Linked DNA regions of Homo sapiens: region 1 is linked to region 2. The links are contacts of gene promoters, found by promoter capture Hi-C in human tissues and cell types (Jung and others, 2019). All regions are on one chromosome and are shown on one strand. Each heading gives the region's core, a stretch centred on a gene start or on the middle of the fragment in contact. The rest is flanking DNA. Distances are from core to core; before and after follow the strand shown. Region 1 overlaps RUBCNL (rubicon like autophagy enhancer). Region 2 holds the start of GTF2F2 (general transcription factor IIF subunit 2).

Region 1 (4,940 bases), core at 539-3,038, 1.2 Mb after region 2:
AGTTTCTGTTGTTTATTATCCACCTAGCGTAAGGTATTTTATTATAGCAGCCTAAACAGACTACGACAGTGACAAACCTGTTCCCTCAGTACTCATCCCCTGGACAACAGGTATCAGGACATCTTATGTTAGTCAGAGTAGGGTGGGTTACACTGTAGGAACCAGCCCCACAAAAATCTCAGGAACTGAACAAAATAAAGGTTTATTCTTGCTTGTAAAAAGTCCAATGCAGGCACCGCACTCCTGAGTAGTTCTATTTCAAACAATCACTCAGGGAGCTGGGTAGGGCCCTCAGGAATGTGGACCTTCAGGGGCTGCAGGAGCAAAGGGAGAATAAAGTCTCTCTCATAGCTTCCAAGAGACTTTCAAGGGCAGATAGAAAGGATCAAAGGCTGCCAAAAGTTCAGAGAGCTGTCCCCAGTAGAATAATGAGGTAAATGCAGATATCAGAGTGTAAGGAGAAGGGAGCATGTGTGTGCACGTGCAGTACGCTGAAGAATGGGCAAGATCGGGAGGGAGATGAAAAGGGGAAGCGCCCACCACTCCCATCTGCAGAGCCCATGCAAGAGTACAAATACAGGTCCACATGCCATATATCCAAGTATTTAAAATTTGAAATATGTTTTATCTTCCTACCATGGTGAATATCCCTTCATCAGGACCCGAGAAAGCAGGTTTGAATTTTGAAATCTTTGACTCCTCACTGCTCTGCTCTGGAGCATGGTGGCTCAGGTATAGCTAGCATTGGGCCAACCCCTGCCCCTCTCTCTTCCCACTTTGGCTCCATCCTACAAGCAGCTGCCCCTTGGCTGCCTCTTGGTCTTAGCAGCGCAGTTCACTTTCAGGAGGCTGGACCAGGGGAAAGACCTGAGCAGCCCTAAAAGTGGGGTTGAGACCACAGGGCAGGGGATTCTGTCTGGGGCTCCATTTGATCTAACAGGAGGGGTGGGGGCTTTGGGTGCGCTTGCCCTTTGTCTCCTCACCAATGGGGATGTACGTAGCCCGAGGAAGGCCAGAGCAGGGCCTCTTTCCAGGATGAAAGGGCAGTCCTGATCCCAGGCAAGGGATGCAAGAAGAACAAGACCATGGAGGCAGGAACACGGCAGGACTAGAAAAGAGGGGGCAGCCCTGGGGAGAAAGAAGCCTGGAAGCACAAGCAGAGGCCAGAAAATGTTCAAGGAAGGGCTGGGCGCGGTGGCTCACACCTGTAATCCAAGCACTTTGGGAGGCCGAGGCGGGTAGATCACTTCTGAGACCAGCCTGGCCAACATGGCGAAACCCCGTCTCTACCAAAAACAGAAAAAAATTAGCTGGGCATGGTGGCACATGCCTGTGGTCCCAGCTACTAGGGAAGCTGAGGCAGGAAAATCGCTTGAACCGGGAAGCAGAGGCTGCAGTGAACTGAGATCACGCCAACTGCACTCCAGCCTGGGCGACAGAGCGAGACCCTGTCTCAAAAAAAAAAAAAAAAGTGCAAGGAAAAATACACAATTTGCTTAACCTATGTGGTTAAGCTCTTCAATCCTCAGTCCCCTTGGCTTGGAGAGCTGCCCAGATATGCGAGGATGCAAAGGTTCTCGATTTCTCATGTTTGTGCTGAAGCTTCCCAATTGTGTCTGCAGCCTGCTACCTCAGCATTACTCATAAAAGTATTGTTTTAGTTTCTAGTGAAGTGAAAAAGGGGAACTACGGTTTTCCTTCCCATACCAGTTGAGAAATTATTTAAAGACAGAGATCCTTAAATGCTTGTTTTAAGGAAGCACGCTTCTAAAAATGACACACTTCACCCTCCTTTGGCGATGAGTTCAGGAAGGCTTCCTGCAGGTAGCATCTGACGGTGGCTAAGCCAGCCATGCAGGCTCAGACCTGGGGGCAGAAACTGAATGTCAAACCCCTTCCTGACATGTCTACCACGTTCCTTCCAGCAGGTTTGAATTCCGAAGTCTCAGACAAATGACCACACTCTGGGTGGTTTAAAACAACAGGGTCAGGCGCAGTGGCTCAGGCCTGTAATCCCAGCACTTTTGGAAGCCGAAGCAGGCAGATCACCTGAGGTCAGGGGTTAGAGACCAGCCTTGCCAACATGGTGAAAACCCGTCTCTACTAAAAATACAAAAATTATCCAGGCCTGGTGGCGTGCGCCTGCAATCCCAGCTACTCGGGAGGGTGAGACAGGAAAATCACTTGAACCCAGGTGGCGGAGGTTGAAGTGAGCTGAGATCGCACCACTGCACTATAGCCTGGGTGACAGAGCAAGACTCCATTTCAAAAAAACAAAAACAAAAACAAAACAAAACAAAAAAACCCCAGGAATTTATTCTCTCATAATTCTCAATGTCAGAAGTTTGAAATCAAGGGGTCAGCCATGTTGGGTTTTTTTTTTAAGGCTCTGAGGAAGAATCTGCCCCCTGCCTCTCTCCGGCTTCTGGGGGCTGCCAGCAATTCTTGGTGCTCCTTGGCTTGTAGATGCATCACCCCAACCTCTGCTTTTTTTCTTCCCTGCATCTTCTCTCTTCTCTCAATTTCCCTTTTCTTATAAGGACACCAGTCACTAGATCAAAACTCATCCTAATGCACTATGTCCTCATCCTAACTTAACCACCTCTGCAAAGACCCTACTTCCCAAAAGGCCACAGCACAGACACCAGCATAGACCTTTAACATATTCTTTCATGGGACACAATTCAACCCACAACAGTAGCTATTGTTCTAATCCTTGTATTACAGATTATAAACTGAGACCCAGGGAGTAACTTACCCAGAGATACAGAAAATAAGGGGTATGACTCAGTTTGTAATCTGTCTAGACCTCATTATTACCATTTGCCCTTGCTTGTACCAGGCCTTTTAGTGGGTGCTTCATTTTCATTTCTAATCCTTATCTCAACTGCAGAGAGTCATATCCCTCATTTTACAAACAGAGGCTTAGATAATTTAAATGGCTTCCCCAGTGTCTGAGTCTATTTGTGTTGCTATAAAGGAATACCTGAGGCTGGGTGATTTATAAAGAAAAGAGGTTAATTTGGCTTATGGTTCTGCGGGCTGTACAAGCATCGCACCAATATCTGCTTCTGGTTAGGACTTGTGGCTGCTTCCACTCATGGTGGAGGGGAAGGGGAGCCTGCGTGTGCAGACTCCCCTTGTATGGAAACAGAGGAGGCAAAGAGAGGGCAGGGAGGTGCCAGGCTTCATAACAACCAGCTCTCATGGGAACTAAGAGTGAGAACTCACTCATCACCACAAAGGTGCCACCAAGCTATTCTTGAGGGATCCACCCGCATGACCCAAACACCTCTTATTAGGCCTACCTTCAACACTGGGGATCAAATTTCACCATGAGGTTTGCAGGAGTCAAACAAGCCAAACTAGAGCACCAAGTCACCATGGGTAGGTAGAAAGTGGCATATTTGGGATCTAATCTGAAGTTGTGGCCAATAATTCTCACCCAGGTCAACACACCAGACATCTTTGGGATGGCTTGCTCCTCCTCATCCTATAGCCTCTGCCTTGAGATGGTGTAACTTCCTCCCTGCAGTTGAGAATCATGACTGTAAATGACACACTACTGGAATTGCCCATGTGAAGAGTGCAGAGGCAGAAAATGAATCACTGACCTTTACAGCACTGCAACTGATGCCTCACAGTGGGTAATGGTCTGACCAAGCATTCATCTTCTTTCCGGCAGCCAAGGAAGAGTTGAACAGAAAACCCACACAATCAGGAAGACCCATTAAACAGCTATATATGCCACAACTAATTACTTCCTTATGGGGTGCTCCATGTGGGCTGAAGATCACTTCCCTAACAGGTGCCTTCCTGGGAAGAAGCCTCTATTATCACATTGGAGAGGAACAAAGTCTCAGACAAATCCCATACTGCAGTTATTTAAATGACCTCATTCTTCCTCAAAATAGAAAATCAAAAGCATCACTTCCTGGCAACTGCTGTGCACTCTTCCTTAATATCAAAGATATGTAACACACACAGGCTCATCAGTGCCTTACAAACATACAAACCCTGAGCACAGAGCCCTTCAAGCAATGCTTGAGCCATAGCAGCTGCCTTAAATCAACACTGATGTGAGAAAACACTCTGCCCAATGCCACTTCTGCAAGTTGGAGCAACACTTACCAGTTAAGGTTGTTTTTACTCCTTTGTCTTGAAAAGACACCACAAAAGAAGCAGGGCCTAAGCATGGGCTTTGGAGGCAGGTGGACTTGAATGTCAACCCCAGCTCCATCATGCACTTCCTGTGGGAACCTAGGAAAGTTATTTCTCTTCTCTAGGCCTCAGTTTCCTTGCCTGTAAATGGAGATATAGACATCTGCCTCAGAAAGGAATGTGAACATACCACTCTTACCCTTGATTCTTAACAGGGAATAGGAGCAATGGGCAAGAATGAAACATTGTTTGAAGTCTGGTTTTATTTATTCTATGTGCCTCTACACTTCTATAATACTTAGAAAAGATCTGGCTTAAATAATGGATGTGAGCACAGTTCTGGCAGAGGCACTGCGGATGAGAAAACAATTGACAGAATGAGAAGACTGAATGAAAAGAGATTGACAGAAGTCATTCATTTCTTTCATGTGCTCAGTACTATCCCATTGAATAAAACACACTCATACACATGGCTGGATGGGGTTAGGGGACAATCTGTGACGCTTTATTGCCTGCCTGTGCTGTCTGAGAAAATCAAGGTAGGTTTAGTTAGGGCATGTGAATCCCAGGGAATGTAATGCCCAAGCCCTAGGTTGCAAACCGTTCAGTCTAAAGGTATACCATGAAGGGACCCAGCCTCAAGGCCCCTTTCTCAAGTGGGAGAAAGTATATAGAAAGTAGAAGAAAAAAGAATAGGCTCACATGTTTCAGGAAAACATATAAGAACTATTAGAAAAAAGAAATTCATAAAGGTTTTGTGATTCATTTAACCTTATTAG
Region 2 (5,698 bases), core at 1,610-4,109:
TGAAACCCCGTCTCTACAAAAAATACAAAAATTAGCTGGGTGTGGTAGTGTGCACCTGTAGTTCCAGCTACTTGGAAGGCTGAGGTGGGAGGATAGCTTGAGCCCGAAAGGTCAAGCTGTAGTGAGCTGTGATCATGTCATTGCACATTCCAGCCTGGGTGATAGAGCAAGACTCCGCCTAAAAACAAAAACAAAAACAAAAACAAAGCAGCAAAGAAGGTTGGGTGGCCTTGAGGTCTGACCTAGAATCTAAGCCCTAGATAAAGATGGAGGTTCAAGTTGGCCTAAGCACTACCAGACTTTTTGGAAAAATTGCAGCCAGCAATGAGTTCTTGGGCCCTCCTTCCTAGAATTGCATTTGCGCCTTAAAAATTTTGGTAACAACTTGACTAGTTAATCATCTGAGGGAGTAAAAAATTTTGGTGTTACCTTCTCTGGGGCACTGACTTCTGCATCCTATGCTCTGTGAGCCCCATCCTGGGATATGGTCTCAGCTCTTGGATGTTGATATGTTTAATGACATATAGGGCTATATTGAGGAAAAATAATACCTACTCTGGCAAATTGTTATAAGGATTAAATGGGATAATACAGAAAATAACTAGCTGAGGATCTGGCATATAATGAGTCCTTAGGAAGGTGAGGGATCTGCCTGTAGTATCTATCCACCTTAAGGGTCTCCACAGTAAATCTGTGAATTTGGTTCATAGGGGCCATGCCCTCCTTTTCTATCAGGGTTCTGTAAACATCCCTCTTCAAGCTAGAAGGGGTTTGAAAAGGACAGACAGGAGAAGCTTGCTCTTTGTTCAACAGCGTACGAGGAAGAGGTGCTCAATACGTTGTTTTTTTCTTTCTTCTATGTATCATTTTAAAATCTCCACTTTTCCGTTCTTCGCTAGCCCTTTCATCAGCCATTTTTTTTCTCTCTCAATCTCTGTGTACACACACATACACACATACCCACACCACGTACACATTTTAAGGCCTCCCATGACCCAGAGACCAAAGCCAGGGTTCCAATCTTTAAAGTCCATTCCTGGGGTGCTCTAGACTTTGCTTCTCTTCTCCCATGGTCTCATATTTCAATTTATTCCTTCTCCTTGATTAAAGTTTAGAGCAGTTCCCTTAATCTGCTTACTCTTTATATGTTTTAAAAAGGCCCTTTTCCAAGTTGTTGCACAAGAAGAAACCTTCATTTTCTGCTTAAAAAAATTTTTTTTTGTTTTTCTTTTTTTTTTAGAGATAGGGTTCTTCCTATGTTGACCAGGCTGGTCTCGAACTCCTAGCCTCAAGTGATCTTCCCATCTCGGTCTCCCAAAGTGTTGGGATTACAGGTGTGAGCCACTGCGCCTGGCCAAAAAAATTTTGTTTTTAGTATTTATTTTTTAGAGACAGGACCTTGCTCTGTCACCCAGGCTGGAGTGCATGGCACGATCATGACTTACTGTAGCCTTGAACTCCTGGGCAGACACAATCCTCCCACCTCAGTCTCCCAAAGTTAGGGTTACAGGGTTGAGCCACTGAGCCTAGCCTGAAACTTTCATCTTCAACACACTCCTGGTCTCTCCCATCTTTCCTATTAGTTTTCCTAGCTAAAAGCAGAGTTCTGACAGCTTTTCCTGGCCCTATGCTGAACACACATAAAATTTCCTCAATTTTGTGCAAGGCTCTGATGTGTGATTCAATAAATTACTTGCCATTCTTAACAATACCTTACTGTTTGTTTCTCTTCAGCGAATGTTCTTTCACCCAAAGCCTACTGAAACCTGACAATGTGTTAAACACTGTGCTAGACATTGTGGATATAAAATGAATAAAGCACTATTTTTTATTTGTCAATTATACCTCAATAAAGCTCTTTCCGCCTAGGAGGAGTTCATTGTCTGGAAAGCAAAGGCAGATATGTAAACATATATATTATAGTTCAGAGTGCTAAGTATCACACTGTGATGTGAAGAAAAACTAATTTCTTCTGGGGAAGTTGATAAAAGATCTCATAGGAAGTGACATTTTCATTGGTCTTGAACCATAAGTAGGAGTTTGCCAACCAGAGCACAGGGGTGAGAGTGAGGGCAGGGGTAAAATAGGGCTTCCAAGGGAAGGGAATCCAGTGTGCAGAGGCTCTGAAATGACCGACGAAGATTCTGACGTGTTTAGGGAAGTCTGCTGGGTTTGATGTGGTTTGGTGCATGGCGGAGTGATGGTGGGAGGTGCAAAGAGATGAAATTGAGAGGGCCCAGTTGAAGCAGGAGGATTGAACTTTATTCTAGAGGCAATAAGAGAAAGAGAAAACTGTTTAAGCAGGGGAGGAAACGATCAGGTTTGTCTCTTACTTGTTCGTTTCGTTACAGACTTCCGGGTTTTGGAAACTGAGGTGCTCCGCTTGCTTCATCAGAACAGCTCGGGTAGCCTCTGAGCTGAAACACGGCTTTTTTTTTTCCAGGTCTAGAAACGGCATGTTTTCAATATACCCAAGGCTACTAAGTTTGATCCCAGTGCCCATTTGTGCTAATGACGTTGGCCAGGGACGCCAATTTACTACCCTGACCCTGTCCTTCAAATATTGTCTCTCTCTCCTTGGCTAGGGTTGGACATGTTCTGACACCTTTCGTCTCTTTGAACCCCATTTTTCCGTTCTGATAATCTTTTTCTTCAGTTATGCTGACCATGTCTTTAAATACATTGCTAACGTTTTAGCTCATCCCACCCTACGTTTTAATCCCTCAGATGCAGACATCGCGGACAGCCACGCCCACTCAAGAAATTTCCGAAACAGAAAGTTTGTCTGCAACAGCGCGCCGTACTGACGTAGCAGTGCGCAGGCGCAGTCCCGGCTCCTGGCGGCGTGTTCCTCTTTTCCTCGGTTCCCAGTGTTCTGGCAGGTAAGGAACGCCGGCTCTTCGCCTCTCAGCGCGGCTTGTCCTTTGTTCCGGACGCCCGCTCCTCAGCCCTGCGGCTCCTGGGGTCGCTGCTGCATCCCGCACGCCTCCACCGGCTGCAGACCCATGGCCGAGCGCGGGGAACTCGACTTGACCGGCGCCAAACAGAACACAGGAGTGTGGCTAGTCAAGGTAATGTTCGCGAGTCTCCCACTTGCGCTCCTCCTAACACAAGTATAGTTTAAGTAACTTGAGCCTATCCCGCTCCGTGCGCCTCTTAAAGTTCTTTTACGGCTATCTCGTTAGAGCTTCACACATTTTGAGAGGCAGGAGTCATTGTTGTATCTGTTTGCAGACGAGGAATTAGTTTAGGGACGCAAAGTGTCTTTCAGCCAGTTACTACTCTGAATCTGCCTGGACTAGATCTCTTTCTCACGGCTTTCCTGGAATCTTGTCTTGGTGTCCCCAGATTTGGACGGTGCATTTTATCCCAGACTGAAGAATTCCTTGTATCTTCCCTTGGTGAAACTGGTTTTAGCCATGAGCCTGCGTGAGGTAGTTGAATGTCTACTTTCTGTACAGTTTTCTCGGCCAGAAAGTAGGACTGGTCCCTGCCTACTCTTAAAAGTGTTCTCTTAGGTTGATGGTCCTTAATGAAGCTCTCAAAAGAGGCGAGAGAGCCCCAAACTCACAGAAGGAGAGGTCATTGGACTGGAGTATTCTTTTAGAGCACATTTGGGTCTCGTGAAACTGGCCGTCAATAAACGTTTTATGTGAAGACAGCAATTTTGGTTAGCTCACAGTAAGCACTATTTGTGCTTTATTGTTTCATATTGGGGAGTGTTTTCTCCTAGGGGAGTTTCATAATACTTAAGCATATTCAAAATGTGATCCTGAAAGTCGTTGAAACTTAAAATGTAAGGACTTTTGGTTTCTTAATGCTTTAACTGTTTTATCACATGGCTGAGTTCTCGTCAATTAAATCTAAGAGGTCTTTCTTGTCGGCCTTCCTAAAACAGCCCCCTTGTGATCATTTGCTAACACGACAGATGTGTATTACATTCTTCAAAGCACTTTTCACAGTGTAGAGTGATTTTGTGTTCATATGTTCAAAGTTGGTTACCTCTGTCTTTCCAACACACAGAATCACATTCCATGAGAACAGGATCTTTGCCTGTCATACCCAGAATAGTGTTTGGCGCATGGTAATTACTCAACAAATAGATGATGAATAAATGCATGACCTCTCATTCTTCAGCCCTCGCCTTAGTCTGTGGCACTCATTTGACTTATTTCCAAACTCAGTGTGACTTAAAAGGATGGATTAAATAGGCATTTCTCTCTCCAGCAGCATGTTACTTGGGGGGAGAGTCACTAAGGAGGAGATTGCCCTTACGGACTGAAGGAAAAAGCTTGAAAAAATGGTGTGACTTGAGATGGTGCCATTGTCCTAGGAGCATGGTAAATGCTCAATGTTTGTCTTACAGGATTTGGATGGGTGGACACAGTGTATACCATGGGGAATGGAACAGAAATGCAAGACTCAAAATATATAATCAGCATGGCGTGTTGTGGAAAACAGAGAGAACCTAGAGCAGAAGATCTGTGTAGATGAAGATGGGGACCATATACTCAGATTGTCATATCATGAAACGGAGATATTCTAACTTTAGTTTACAAGGAAGTAACGAACTTTTTGGAGGATTTGAGTGAGGTAGAGATGCCAGATATTTATTCAGGAAAAAAAAAAATGTTTGGCAGTGTGCAGTACGAATTAGAGGGGAGGGTAACCAGAGTCACAATTAGAAAATTATCACAGGATCGGGCTGGGCATGGTGGCTCACGCCTGTAATCTCAGCACTTTGGGAGGCCGAGGTGGGTGGATCATGAGGTCAAGAGTTCGAGACCAGCCTGGCCAATATGGTGAAACCCCATCTCTACTAAAAATACAAAAATCAGCCAGTCATGGTGGTGTGCGCCTGTAGTCCCAGCTACTTGGGAGGCTGAGGCAGAAGAATCACTTGAAACCGGGAGACGGAGGTTGCAGTGAGCCGAGATTGCTCCGTTGCACTCCAGCCTGGGCAACAGAGCAAAAATTCCTTCTCAAAAAAATAAATAAATTAAAAAAAAGTGTAATTTGTTGCTTAGAAAGTGTATCTTCATTCTCATCTAATCAGAATTTGAATTGAAGTACATATTGATTTCAAGTTTTTTCTCCTTACATTAATTTTCCTATTAAAAATAATACCTTGAGTTCTGATCTTTGTTGCTAAATAATGTTTCTTCCTAGGATATCTCACGGTTTATAGATCATCTTGTACATATTTAATTCCATCACTAGACAGGTATAGAACTGTGTAAATACAGTAAGAACTATACATACAAGATCTCTGAGAGTTTTGAGCGGGAAAAAAATTAGTGCTTCACCAGAACTGGGAAGACATCATAAAGAAGGTGACGTTTAAGAAAAGCCTATTTGGAGGTTGCAGTGAGTCAAGATTGTGCCACTGCATGCACTCCTGCCTGGGCGACAGAGTGACATCCTGTCTCAAAAAAAAAAAATGGATGTGAGTGTGATCTGTCTGGGACATCTGTCACCCCATTGATTACTAGGGTTGATTTGGCTAATCTGGCTGGCTAGGCGGGTGTCTCCTTCCTCCCACACTGCTCCATGTATGTCCCTCCCGAAGCTGCACGCTTGACCAAAGAGGATGACCATCCGGATAGAGGAGGACTGGTCTTCAGTCAAGGGTATATGTATGGTTGTACTCCCCTGCTAGAACCTCCAAAGAAGCTTTCAAGAAGAGCTTATGGCAGGC

The links. Contacts are between HindIII fragments. The study calls those that stand out against the background at their distance.
Region 1: a contact is called between a fragment that was not itself captured here and the fragment with the promoter of GTF2F2 in region 2, in 1 of the 25 tissues and cell types used here (lymphoblastoid cells).

What each region holds. Positions count from the first base shown.
Region 1 is chr13:46,337,592-46,342,531 of GRCh38, forward strand. RUBCNL (rubicon like autophagy enhancer) reads right to left here. Exons shown (of 15, transcript NM_025113.5): 15 at 1-4,940. Among named protein-coding and RNA genes, the nearest start is that of LINC00563, 42 kb to the left of the region's middle. RefSeq lists an enhancer at 1,521-1,600. The HindIII fragment of the contact is 3,450 bases long and covers 64-3,513 here.
Region 2 is chr13:45,117,651-45,123,348 of GRCh38, forward strand. GTF2F2 (general transcription factor IIF subunit 2) reads left to right here and starts at 2,860. Exons shown (of 8, transcript NM_004128.3): 1 at 2,860-3,071. The coding sequence starts at 3,006. It also overlaps the pseudogene RN7SKP4. RefSeq lists enhancers at 2,490-3,133, 2,894-3,023, 3,134-3,775. The HindIII fragment of the contact is 5,168 bases long and covers 1-4,982 here.